Linked DNA regions of Homo sapiens: region 1 is linked to region 2. Evidence: promoter capture Hi-C in 16 types of primary human blood cells and fetal thymus (Javierre and others, 2016). All regions are on one chromosome and are shown on one strand. The core of a region is centred on a gene start or on the middle of the fragment in contact, and the rest is flanking DNA. Distances in the headings are between cores, read along the strand shown.

Evidence for each region. Contacts are between HindIII fragments. The CHiCAGO score rates a contact against its expected background, and 5 or more counts as called.
Region 1: the fragment with the promoter of PYGM here is called in contact with the fragment with the promoter of BAD in region 2 in 1 of 17 cell types (naive B cells); the score reaches 5.4 in naive B cells.

What each region holds. Positions count from the first base shown.
Region 1 is chr11:64,758,664-64,764,927 of GRCh38, reverse strand. It overlaps PYGM (glycogen phosphorylase, muscle associated), which reads left to right and starts at 4,954. Exons shown (of 20, transcript NM_005609.4): 1 at 4,954-5,272; 2 at 6,224-6,264. The coding sequence starts at 5,030. SF1 (splicing factor 1) reads left to right here. Exons shown (of 13, transcript NM_004630.4): 13 at 1-322. RefSeq lists enhancers at 1-66, 991-1,040, 4,137-4,839, 4,840-5,544, 5,545-6,248 and 6 more. The HindIII fragment of the contact is 7,098 bases long and covers 1,417-6,264 here.
Region 2 is chr11:64,282,174-64,288,912 of GRCh38, reverse strand. It overlaps BAD (BCL2 associated agonist of cell death), which reads left to right and starts at 4,248. Exons shown (of 4, transcript NM_032989.3): 1 at 4,248-4,282; 2 at 4,537-4,731. The coding sequence starts at 4,545. GPR137 (G protein-coupled receptor 137) reads right to left here and starts at 3,065. Exons shown (of 7, transcript NM_001170880.2): 1 at 2,032-3,065; 2 at 1,899-1,948; 3 at 967-1,192; 4 at 699-848; 5 at 445-573; 6 at 192-310. The coding sequence starts at 2,388. RefSeq lists silencers at 2,989-3,728, 4,079-4,368. The HindIII fragment of the contact is 5,985 bases long and covers 3,713-6,739 here.

The sequences.
Region 1 (6,264 bases), core at 3,705-6,204, 480 kb before region 2:
CCTGTGCTCCTTGATCACCTGAGCTGCCTCAGATTCCATTTGGTCCTCTCCTTCCTGGAAGGCTTCCTTTTATGTTTTGTTTTAATCCCAAATGTCTGAATGTTTTGCAGTGTGTAGGGGTTTGAGCCCCTTGTTCATTCTCCTTCCTTTTTCCTCCCGCTTCCCTCTCCATGAAGTGATTCTGTTGACAATAATGTATACTGCGCGTTCTCTTCACTGGTTTATCTGCAGAAATTTCTCTGGGCTTTTTTCGGTGTTAGATTCAACACTGCGCTAAAGCGGGGATGTTCCATTGAATAAAAGAGCAGTGTGGTTTTCTGGGTCTGCTTCTTTATTTTCTTTTTAATGCCTGCCCCGCCCGGTTTTTCTTTTCACATAAACTTCCTCTACCACCAGCAGCAGCAGCAGCACCAAAGGTGCCTTAACTTTCGTTCAGCACCAGGTCCGGGGGGGTGAGACTGTGGGTGGTTAATTAGGGAAGCCCACCACCTGCCTCCTGTGTGTGGCTTTGGTGGTGGGAGCTCAGTGTGTGGGTGGCTCCACAGTCTCCCCTTTGGTGACTAGTTAACATCGCTGAGAACCAATTTTGCCCCTCCTTGTTCACTGCTCATTTTTCTAGTCTCTGTCCTTTGAAGGCTTTTTCCTGGGGCTCAGACGTCCACGTTTGATGAGCTCCAGTGGTGATTTGTGCCTGGAAGCTGCCACCTAAGGCCCTGGGCCTGGGGAGGCATCAACACTAAAGGTCAAGCCAACTAATCCTGCCTGTCAGGCACAGAGCAGCTAAAATTAAAACCGCCAAGTGGCTTTTTTCCTTCTCTGCTGGTGACTTGCAGCCTGCCAGCGCTGTAGGCTTTGGCGGGGGTCGGGGGGACAGGATAAAGTGCCCCATCTTGTGCTTTGCAAGCACTTTTCAAAGGGTCTTCTGCTTTTTTTCCATGTCTTGGGCGGCGAGTGGGTAGTTACTGTTAGGGTTCCAGAAAAATCCATGTGGAGTCTCCACCAGGTAGTGAGGTCCTCTCCTGGGCAGAGGTGCCTTAGAGCTGCCCTGGTTCCACCTGCCTCTCCTTCCTTCAGGGCGGCTGAGGGACAGTAGGCTCCCCCAGCATCTGGCTGCTGGGGCCAGCAACTGGCCTGGGCTGCTTTCCAGCTGTGAGCTAGGGCTGGCTACTGCTGTTTACTGGGGTGTCTGGTCCCCCGTCCAGGAGGCCTGTGCTTTGCTATGGGTCTGCCAGGCTTGAGGAGCCCTCAGAAGCAAGGCAGGCTCAGTGCGTTTCCCCAGCCAAGCCCTAAACTTCGGCTCACCAAAAGGAGGACATCTTTTTTGCCTTTGTCCTTAAGTGGCAGAATGGGGGCAGGGCCTGGGGCCTGGCTACCCTCTTTGACCTTGGCTTCACCTCATTGCTTCTCCCACAAGCTTGGTTTCCCTGGTGGGCTCATTGGGTGGTTAATTAGCTCTTTGAAGCTCTGGAAGCGGCAAAGTGGCGCTATGTGGGTTTTAGAAATAAAATCAATAAATGACTTAACCACAGCTTAGCTATCTCCTCCGCTTCTCTCCCCCAGGCCAGCTCCATTCCTGTGCTCCCTCCCTTTCTGCTCCCTGCCGTCAGCTTTTGTTAAGGTTTTGGAGAGGAAGTGGCTGACTAAGGCATCAGTCTCCAAGGTGCTAGAGGCCCTGAAATGGAAGAGACAGCAGGAAGGCTTGGCCCTCTGAACCGTGGCAAGCACTTGCCTCTGGCAGAATCAGAGAGAGAAAGGCCTGCCCACCTGTCTTAAGACACCTGGGGTGGGAAAGCAAGCCATTTACTCCATCACATTGTGACAGGGCTGTGCTTGCCCCACCCCCTCTCCTCACGTTCATTTCTGCTGCTGTAGCAGCACTGTCCCCGTCCCTCAAGGCCTGGCAAGGCCTGGCAAGAGGAATGCCAGTGGGGAAAGGTCAGCCTCAGGGCTCTGTTACTGAGGTTCAGCCAAGGGCTCTGGAGAAACCCAGGATTGGTCCAAGGAAGGAGGCCGGGTTTCTAGTTAGAAACTTAGACATAAATAACCTCGAGTGAGTTCAGGTTGTAAAAGTGCTTCAGGGTTCATTAAACCTGCATACACAACACCAAGGAGGGGCGGAGGAAGCAGGGAAACAGATGAGATCGTGCTGCCCAGGTGTGATCATGCTGGGCTGGGGCATGCAGTGTCACCCCGGGACAAAGCCTGGAAACAGTGGGGAGTGATGGCATGACAAAGACGGAAAGAAGCCACAGAAAAGGTAGTTGGAGAAAGTTAAAAATTTCCCAGTAAAAATGTTCCTGAGAGCAAGCGCCCTGGGTGCAAGAGGGGAGAGTAGCTGGGAAAGGATGGAATGAACTTGGCCTTCCCTGCCTGTAAGATGTGGATGGTCTATGGGGATCGGGTCCTCAGTGGCAGGAACATAAAGTCTTGCAGGAAATAGGGGTCAATGCAAAGAAGGTGTGTGTGGCCAAAGCAGGCTGCCACGATTGGGCTGTGAGGTGACGGCATGGTTAACAAGCTACTGCCTGCCTGGCAGTGGACTGCCAAGAAGTCTCAGCTCTACTCACAGCAACCCTCCAAGGGACAAGTGCGGGCTGTGAAGAACCTTGGATGCCAGGCCAAGCTGGAGTCCAAGCTGTGCTTAGTGGAGGATGGGGATGAGGCCCAGGAGCTGAGGCTGGGGTGCAAACTGTGAAAGGGGAAGAGACCAGACAGCTGCCAGCATTGTTTTTTTGTTTGTTTTTGAGACAGAGTCTCGCTGTGTCGCCCAGGCTGGTGTGCAGTGGCGTGATCTCGGCTCACTGCAACCTCTGCCTCCCGGGCTCAAGTGATTCTCCTGCCTCAGCCTCCCGAGTAGCTAGGATTACAGGCATGTGCCACCATGCTTGGCTAATATTTGTATTTTTAGTAGAGACGGGGTTTCGCCATGTTGATCAGGCTGGTCTCGAACTCCTGACCTCAGGTGATCCACCCACCTCGGCCTCAAAGTGCTAGGATTACAGGCGTGAGCCACCGCGCCCGGCCAGCATTGTTTTTTAATGGTTTATGAAACACTTCTTAAGAGAAATTGGAAATTAACAGAAAAATGTAAGGAAAAGTTGTTTGCATCCCCGTGTCTGTGGAGGTGTATTTTGGTGTTTTTTTCCCGATCTTTTTTCTCTACTTGGAAATGTGGCAGGCACCACAGAAGACAGTGTGCCCGTGCCTTTTGGGGGCAGGGGTAGAGCAGGGCTTGGGAGCCTGGAGACCTCTGTAGGACTTGAAGTTTGGCCCACATACTAAGCCGGTGATTCCAGGGCTGGGTCTGCCATGGCTCAGAAAGTGATCGGAGGCCGGGCGCTGTGGCTCATGCCTGTAATCCCAGCATTTTGGGAGGCCAAGGTGGGCGGATCACCTCAGGTCAGGAGTTCCAGACCAGCCTGGTCCAACATGGTGAAACCCCGTCTCTACTAAAAATACAAAACTTAGCTGGGCATGGTGGTGGGTGCCTGTAATCCCAGCTACTCAGGAGGCTGAGGCAGAATTGCTTGAGCCCAGGAGGCGGAGGTTGCAGTGAGCTGAGATCATGCCATTGCACTCTAGCCTGGGCGACAAGAATGAAACTCTACCTCAAAAAAAAAAAAAAAAAAGTTCTCAGAAACAGCTTGGCTTTCTCCGAACCAGGCTCTCAATAGTATCCTGCAGCTGTCCAGGCTTTTGACCTGCTTCCTTGGCCTTCAGAACAGAACACCCAGCTCTTCCCCTCCACCGGCCCACCACCCGGGAGGCCCAAACAGCCTTTGAACTAGCACAAGGTCCTGGTTCCTTTCTCTTAAAGAACAGCAGGATCCGAAGCCTGCCCTCACAAGATGAGGAGGCAGCAGCTGAGAGGCAGGGATTTTTTTTTTTCTCATTGGAGAGTCTAAATTTGGTGAAGGAATCCAAAGCTCAGAAAGGTAAAGCAACCAGCTTGAGGTCACACAGCAAGTCAGTGCTGGGGCCAGAACACAGCAGTGAATGGGAGGATAGCCAAAGCCTCCAGGGAAGGGCTCAAAGCTGTGGGGCTATGCACACAAATGGGGTGAGGTCCTCGAGGTACAGATTAGGCACCCATTTTATAGGCCAGGTCACAGAGCTGGTTTACAAAATCCTGCTCAGAGTGTGGCCCCAGGTGGCAGGAAGAAGTGAAAGAAGGCCTCTAATCACTTCCTAAGCAGTGGAATCACAGGGAGAACTTACTGTCATTAAACCAGTATGATGATGGAGTGGGGAATGCCTCAGTTTCTCCCACCGCCGAGGGCCTATAGGACTACAGTTCCCAGGGCCCCGTGCTGCAGGCTAGCGGCCTCCCGCCAATGCTGGCCAGTAACCTGAGCATCCCTCTCCAAAAGGTCACTTCAGGGCTCCTTGAGGGACAGCAACAGGGGGAGCCTAGAGCTGCTCAGCTTCGGTGGGGGTGGAGTGAGGGCTGTGGCCCTGCCTCACACAACCTCCCTCACACCACCCCTGCAATGCAGGGTCGTGGGCCCCTTTCTCAAAGACATCCAGTGGCCTCTGCTAGTTGCACCTCTTCCGTCAGGGGACACTGACTTGGCTCCTGCACCACAGCCTGCAGGGGGTCCTGGTTCCTTTTGCCACAACACATGGCCTCCCATCCTGGTTCAGCCACTGACAGACAGCTCCCCAATCCAGCACTCTGCCTGCTCCTTCTTGTATCCAACCCTCCAAAAGGCAGGGACAAGGGACAGAAGACCATGTGCAAGGCCTGGAGGAAGTGGGTCAGCACAGGCCTGTGAACAAGCCAGGCCAGTCTTGGCGGCCCAAGTGGAGCTCACCTCTCCCTCCCCTCTCCTCTCCTCCCCTTGCCCTCAAAATAGCTCCCTGAGCTGCCAGGCCAAGACCCTCCCATTGCAGGGGAGGCGGGGCGTGCTGCCCAGAGCCAGGCTTTAAATCCCCTTGAGGCTGGGGAGCTCCACTCCTTGGCTGGAGGCAGTGCTGAGGCCGCCGTCCCCTCTACCATCAGTCCAGTCCGGCCCGCCCTCCTGCAGCCATGTCCCGGCCCCTGTCAGACCAAGAGAAAAGAAAGCAAATCAGTGTGCGTGGCCTGGCCGGCGTGGAGAACGTGACTGAGCTGAAAAAGAACTTCAACCGGCACCTGCATTTCACACTCGTAAAGGACCGCAATGTGGCCACCCCACGAGACTACTACTTTGCTCTGGCCCATACCGTGCGCGACCACCTCGTGGGGCGCTGGATCCGCACGCAGCAGCACTACTATGAGAAGGACCCCAAGGTGCTGCTGGGGAGCCTGGGGTGGGGGTATGGGCTGAAGGCGCTGCCAGGGAGCTGGCGATCTTGACTTAAGTGGCTGCCCCTCGTCACTCTAGGTTCTTGGGGGTGGAGAATCCAGGGGTGCCAGGCACAAGGGGTGCTGGGACAATCTGAGGGAGAAACCTGGGGCAGGAGTGGGGGTCAGGGAGCTCAGAGCAGGTGGGCTGGCTGCAAAGGGTCAGTGCCCACTCGGAGAAGGTTGGAGTGGGTGCTGGTGGGCAGGACGGCGCCTGTGGCCTGGCTGGGCCCAGGTGGAAGGACACATCAGTTGCTGCATGTATGCGCGGTGTGCCTGTGCAGCAGGCGGGGCTGGGGCAGCTGGGGCGGCAGAGATCAAGTGTCCGGTGGGGTCACTGGTAAATGTCAGCAACCTGACACGCCTCGGTGGGGAGTGGGGGAGGGGCGGGCAGACGGCCCAGGAGGGGACCCAGGAAACTGGGAGACCAGGCACTGGCAGCATCCTAGTTTCTGGTGCCTCTGGGTCTCCTTGGGATTGAGGCTTGAGGGCCAAGGGGAACTGGACAGTGCAAGGATGGGAGGTGACAGTCTCTAGCCCAGTCTCTAGCCACTGTGTGACCTTGAGCAAATGACTTTTTTCTCTGGGGGTGTGTGCAGGGGGAAGGGGTGCCCATTCTCCCGAGTACCTCAGTCCCTGAAGTGGGTATGGCCAGCGCTATTTCCCAGATGAGGAGACTGAGGCCAAAGAGAGTGATTTGTCCAAAGTCAGAGGAATGCTGGGACCAGAACCTTAACCGCTGGGCCCCAAAGCCTGAGACAGGGAGAAACAAATTGGGGACAGGGATGGGACTGCTGAGCAGGGCAGGCGGGCCAGAGGTCCAGGCGTGGCTGGGCCTGGCTGAGTGTTGGTGTGTGGCCCTGACCCCATTCCCTGCCCATCCGTCTCTCTGGGCAGAGGATCTACTACCTGTCTTTAGAGTTCTATATGGGACGGAC
Region 2 (6,739 bases), core at 2,999-5,498:
TACATCTCTAGGCAAGAGGTGGAGGCTTTAGCAATAGGAACCCAGGGGACCTCACCTAGTACAGATGGGGAAGCAAAGGCCATGGCAGGGGTGGAAGGCAAGACCCGGCTATCTCGGTCCCCCATAGCTTGATGGAGCCAGCGGGGTGGGCGGGTAGGGCAGGGGTACTGAGGCAGTGCCACGGCTCCTACCTGGTGCTCTCACCCCGGCTGTGCTCCCAGGAGCAGCCCTCATCTTCACAGTGCCCAGCCCGGTCAAAGAAGTAGGACCGAGAGGCAAAGACCTGCCCATTGAGGATGTGGCTGGTGCTCTGGGGGAGGAAGCCATCATCGATACTTACTCCTGTCCTGCACTGGCCTCCCAGGCCCAACCCCAGACTCCAACCCAGGATTTGCAACATCCGCCCCCTCCACTGGCCCCACAGAAGAGGGAGCAGACCCTTACCAGGTCCTGTGGGGGCCGGTGCACCCGGAAGAAGCCCACCAGCAGGGTGGTGGGCAGTAGCTCCCACACGAAGAGGATGAGGCCAAATACCAGGTAGCCTTTGTTCCCCAGGTCATTCACCAGGTCCGCCTGTGGGAAGGCAGGGGCTGGTGCCAGTCTGCAGTCACGCCAAAGGGGTAGTGGGACAGGGCCCAGGCCAGCTGGGGCCAAGGTGCCACGGCTACTAAGGAGGTGGCAGACATGCGTATGCCCACCTGGTCAGACACATTGTACCAGTCGTAATCGAAGGTGTCCAGCCGGCTCTGGGGGGCCAAGGCCAGTGCTGTCAGGTTGTAGCAGGCCCGGCTGGCATAGAGCAGGACCATGGCGCCACCCATCGCGGCCGCCTGGCACACACTGGTCCCCTGGCACAGGTAACAACAGAGGACCCTCAGGGAGAGAAGGCTCCCAGCTTCCTCTACACCCTGAGAACCGCTGCCGAGAGACCCAAAAGACACCTGGGCATCAGTGCTGCAGCCCTACCTTGGCCTCCAGGTAGATGCTAGTGGAGGGCGCCCGCCTGGCGACGAGGCAGAGGCAGGCAGCAAGAGACAGCGCGCAGATGACGAACAGGGAGTCGCTCACCAGGACGCGGACAAGCAGCAGGGCCCAGGGCTGTGCCCGGCGCCGATGGGAGAGCACAGCACACAGCACGTTCACCAGCAGAAAGAGCAGCGAGGCCCCCACAAAGGCCCCTCGGACAGCGAGCCTGCAGCCACAGCACAGTCAGCGCGGGCCCTCAACAGCCCTCAGCACTCACCACCTGCCCCACCTCCTGCAGGAAACCCCAATGTCGACAAAACTCAGGGCATCCAGTCTGAGCCCTGTTCCTCCACTCTTACAGATGGAGAAACTGAGGCCCAAAAAGGTCAGAAGGTGACTGACAGCCATGGTACTTCGGAAGGTGCACCAACTGGAGTCAGAAGTCTCTGTCTGAGCCCCAGCTCTGCGACCTTGATCCTGCTGTCTTACCTGGCTGGGCCTCAGTTTCTTCATCTCTCAAGGGAGGATAGTAGCCTCTCAGGGAAATTGTACAAATAAAAGATGGCTGGGAAAGCTCTTTATAAACCGTAAGACACTGTACAAATGACGAGGGCATTGCGGCCCCAGGTCACCCAGGAGTGCATATGGCTTTGGTGCTTCCATGGGCTGGAGCCTCCAGCTCGCCCTCCATGGTGGATGACACTGGGGCCCTCTCCCTCACACTACCACAAGCATTCCTATTCCTGTGCCTTGCAGATCTGCAAGGCCTCTGCTGAGCCATCTGCGCCAGGTGCTTTAACTTTTCCAAGATCTTCCACAGACATTCCCTGGGTTGCCTTTGTCTCAGCCCTGAGAGGTGGGAAGGGATCTACATGGGACTGTCACCTGCCCCTGACCTGGAGGCTGAGCCCACCAGTGTCCCGAGTACTTACAAGCCTCGGCTCATCTCCGGCCGACGCTTCACCTTGGCCTTGAACACCACCTAGGAGCAGAGATGCCCTTCACTCCTGTGGGTCCTTGAGGCTTGCCACCTCCCGCCCCCCACCCGGGACCACAGTTGGTTACCTGGGCAAAGTAGAGGTTCATAAGCGTCAAGGTGAAGAACTGCAGGCAGACGGGGCAGCAGTAGAGAAGCCAGAAGGGCAAGGGCCCCAGGCGGTTGGCGCGGGGAGTATCTCGGAAGTAGAAGGAGAAGAGGGTGGTACGCAAGGCGGCCCAGAGCAGACAGAGGGCCAGGAACACCGTCTGATAGCTGAGACGCTTGTGCCCATACAGAAGCACCAGCCAGAGCTGGGCATAGACGGAGAAGAAGAGCAGGGCATACAGGGTGGTGTAGGCAGCTGTCAGCCCCAGGGTCACAGCAGGTGGCAGCGCAGGCACCAGCCCGGCAGCAGGCACCAGGCCAGACAGGTTACTCTCCATGTCAGGGAGGGAGGCCTGAATCCCGGAGACAGACAAGGAGGGACTGTCGGCGGGACCAGGGAAATAAATACGGAGGGGTGGGAATTGCAGGGTGCAGAGAGGGAGATGGGGCGCTCAGGAGGAAAGAAGTTGTGGCTGACAGGCCCCTCCTCCTCAACAGAGAGACCCTTGCCCTTGGGGAACACAGGCAGCCTGGGCCCCAGGCCCCTCACTCAGGGGCATGGAAGGGCAGTCTCTTTTCTCCAGGACAGACCGGATAGGGGTTGGGGGTGTCTCCTCCCTGGGCCTACCCCAGAGCCAAGGATGGGGGGATGCAGAGGCCCAAGGAGAGGACTCCCTGGCCTCGGTCGTTCATGTCGTCCTGGGTGGAGGGGGAGAGCCGGCTGATACCCGTCGGGTCAGGGCAGCGGCCGCTGCGAGGGGCGCCCAATGCCCCGCTCTCCCCCTCCCCAAGCTGGGGGAGGCTCTCTCTCCTCCAATAATGCGGATGGGGAGGGCCTCTGCCTCCTGTCCTCGTAATTCTCGAAAGCTGCCCCCGCCCCACCCTCCCCCACCGCGTCCACGCTCCAGCCTCAAGGGGAGGGAGGAGGCGGACGCCAGGTCCTCAGGCCGCTGATGGGAGAGCCGGCTCAGGTCGTGGGGACCCGGGGCTCCGGCTCCCCGGCTCCCGCTGCTCCGCCCCCCTCCCCCTCCGCGCCTGCGCGGGCGCCGTTCGCTACGCAAATTGCGCAGCGGCCCGGCTGGCTCCGCAGTCCAGCGCCGCACCCGGCGTGAAACCGTACGAGAATTGGCGCGAGCTGCGCCGCTGGCGGGCGCCCGGGGTTACGGGAGGCGGCAGGAGGGCGGCCGAGTTGCGGGGGCCGTGCCGCATCCAGGGGGTCCCCGGGTGGGCCGTGCCCCGTGCCGCCCGCCTTTACTTGTATGGGGGTCCGCCAGTTCCCACGCTCCTCTCTCCTATACCCAAATCGGGGTCGTGCCGCCCGGCCGGGGGCGGCAACGGATTCCCGTCCCTCGGTCTCTGAAGAAAACTTCCGCCCATAGCCAAGATGGCCCCCGGGCCCCGCCCCCGGGCCTGAACCCGCGGAGCCCCGAATCCCCCGCGCGGGCCCGCCCCTCGCCCCGGCGCGCCCGCGGCCCTGCTCACCTGGCCGGCCGCCTGCCAGGCGTGAAGCCCCCACGGGCCCTACGGTCCTCCCTCACCGGGTCCCCGGCCCTCCTCCCGCGCCCGGGCAGCCATCCCAGCCAGGGAGGAGGTTCCTTTCCTTATCTCCAGTGCCCCCGAGATGGCGCGGGAGGTGTCCCCCGAGGCGGGCGGCGCGAAGCTTCCGCGCCTGGGAGGAGGAGCGGGGAGCGGGACTTTCCGACCGGGCACCCAGTCCAGGCGGAGCGGTAACAATAGCAACAATAATCACATCCGACGGCTGAGCTTCAGTTGTGGCTGTGCCAAGCGCCTTCGCCCGCAGTAATCACTCCCTTCACAAAGTTTTCACTGGCTCCCGGGGGAGCTGTCACTATCCCCACTTCACTGGGGGGAAACTAAGGCCCAGAGGGGCTGAAGGACTTGTTGGCAGAAGTGGGTCTCCAGGTTCCAAATGGGGACCCCAGAGAATCCCTCTCCTGCTCCCACACACGCCCAAGGTGTGAGGCAGCGAGGATGTGAGCCCCGGGGCCGAAGGAGGGAGGAAAAAGGATGCGGACGAGGAGCCTTGGATCCGGCGGGGGGGCGGGGCCGGGCCGGGTTGACCCCGCCTCTGGACCTACCCGAGTGACGTTCCGAGAGGTGATTGGGCCAGGTCGCTGACAGTTCCCGTTGCCCAAGCAACTAGGGCCCGGAGCCCGGGGTGCTGGAGGGAGGCGGCAGGCCCGGGTCAGGGGCCTCGAGATCGGGCTTGGGGTGAGACCTGTGCGCCGTCACCACGGGCGGGGCGGGGCCTGGGTCCACCGGGGTTCTGAGGGGAGACTGAGGTCCTGAGCCGACAGCCTCAGCTCCCTGCCAGGCCAGACCCGGCAGACAGATGAGGGCCCAGGAGGCCTGGCGGGCCTGGGGGCGCTACGGTGGGAGAGGAAGCCAGGGGTACCTGCCTCTGCCTTCCAGGGCCACCGTTGGCCCCAGCTGTGCCTTGACTACGTAACATCTTGTCCTCACAGCCCAGAGCATGTTCCAGATCCCAGAGTTTGAGCCGAGTGAGCAGGAAGACTCCAGCTCTGCAGAGAGGGGCCTGGGCCCCAGCCCCGCAGGGGACGGGCCCTCAGGCTCCGGCAAGCATCATCGCCAGGCCCCAGGCCTCCTGTGGGACGCCAGTCACCAGCAGGAGCAGCCAACCAGCAGCAGCCATCATGGAGGTAAGTACCCCACCACCTCCACCTGCCGGGACACCTCACCCCCAGCCCACTGGCTCCCTGCATCCCAGTTGCATCCACAGGCACTGAATGCTTTGGGTCGGTCCCCAAACTCTCAGAGCCCCAGTTTCCTCTTTCGTAAAACAGCAATTAATAACCACCATTGTAGGACTGTTGAGTTAATTAGCAGGAACATATAGGATGCACTTGATTACAGAGCTGGTGCACATTAAAGCTAAAAAATGGTTGCTGCCGGGCGTGGTGGCTCACACCTGTAATCTCAGCACTTTGGGAGGCCAAGGCAGGAGGATCGCTTGAGCCCAGAAGTTCAAGGCCAGCCTGAGTGACTTAGGGAGACTCCAGCTCTTAAAATACATATATATATATATAGCAGCTATTAGTGTGGGGTTAGGACAGAAATCAGTGACAGGCAGGCAGTGATCCGAAAAGGAAAAGGGGCCTGCCTAAGGCCACACCTTCCTGGTGTTTCTTTCCTTAGAATGTGGGGGCTGGAAGCCTCCTTGGTGCCCTGCCCCAGGCTACATGCTTTCCCTGGGATTAGGCCTTCCAGCTCCCAGATGTGTTCTTTCTTGCCCTGTGGCTCGTACCCACAGCAGGACTGTCCTGGCACAGTGGCCAGGGGCAGATGACCTCAAGGGGCAGACAGTCCTCCCAGACAGCAGGGCTGTGTGGGGTGAGAAGCACAGGCTCCAAGATGGAAGGATGGACACTGGGGTTCTATGTCCATTTCTCAGTAGGCTCTAGCACCCCTGTGCCCAGCACTGGCCTTGGCACCTGGAACAACAACAGATATCTTCTGAACACAAAAACCAGGTCAAGCTGGGTGGGGTGGCACATGTCTGTAGTCCCAGCAACTCAGGAGGCTGGCTTGAGCCCAGGAATTCAAGACCAGCCTGGGCAACATAGCCAGACCCCATCTCTAAAAATAGAAAACTAGGTCATGTCACTCTGGCACTGCAGCTTAAAAGACCTCCTCCCCATTTTCAGGATTAAGAAGGCTTAAGAGGCCTCTTTCCCCTCGCTCTCTTACGGATAAACACCCACACTCGATTCTCTCAGATTGGACCCCATAGCTTGCTTTCTTTTTTTCTGTTTGTTTTGTTTTGTTTTGAGACAGGGTCTCGCTCTATCACCCAGGAGGGAGTACAGAGGTGCGATCTCAGCTCACTGCAGCCCGGAACTTCTGGGCTTAAGTGATCCTCCCACGTAACTGGGAATACAGGTGTGTGGACCACACCCAGTTAATTTATTTTTTACTTTTTCTTTTTTTTTTTTTTTTTTTCCTGAGACGGAGTCTCACTCTGCTGCCCAGGCTGGGGTGCAGTGGTGCAATCTCGGCTCACTGCAACCTCTGCCTCCTGGGTTCAAGCAGTTCTCCTGCCTCAGCCTCCAGAGTAGCTGGGACTACAGGCGCGTGTCACCATGCCGGGCTAATTTCTTGTATTTTTATTAGAGATGGGGTTTCACCGTGTTAGCCAGGGTGGTCTCCATTTCCTGACCTCGTAATCCACCCGCCTCAGCCTCCCAACAGTGTTGGGATTACAGGCGTGAGCCACCATGCCCAGCATTTTTCACATTTTCATGAGATGAGGGCAGGGGCGGGGTCTCCTTTTGTTGCCCAGGCAGGCCTCAAACTCCTGGGCTCAAACGATCCTCCTGCCTCAGCCTCCAGAACAGCTGGGACCACAGGTGCATGCCACCACACCAGCTCATTTTTTATTTTTTGTAGAGGTGGGGTCTTGCTTTGTTGCCCAGTCTTGTCTCGAATTCCTGGGCCCAAGCAATCCTCTCACCTTGGCCTCCCAGACTGTTGAGATTACTGGCGTGAGCCACCATGCTCAGCCTCCACAGCTTTCTTTAACTTCCTGAGCTTGCACTTGGCCATTTTTCTGCTCACAAACTTCCCCTGCTCTCTGCCCCCCACACACACTCAGCATTCACTCGCGCCACACAGTGAGTGCTCACCGTGTGACACAGGCTGTTCCAGTTG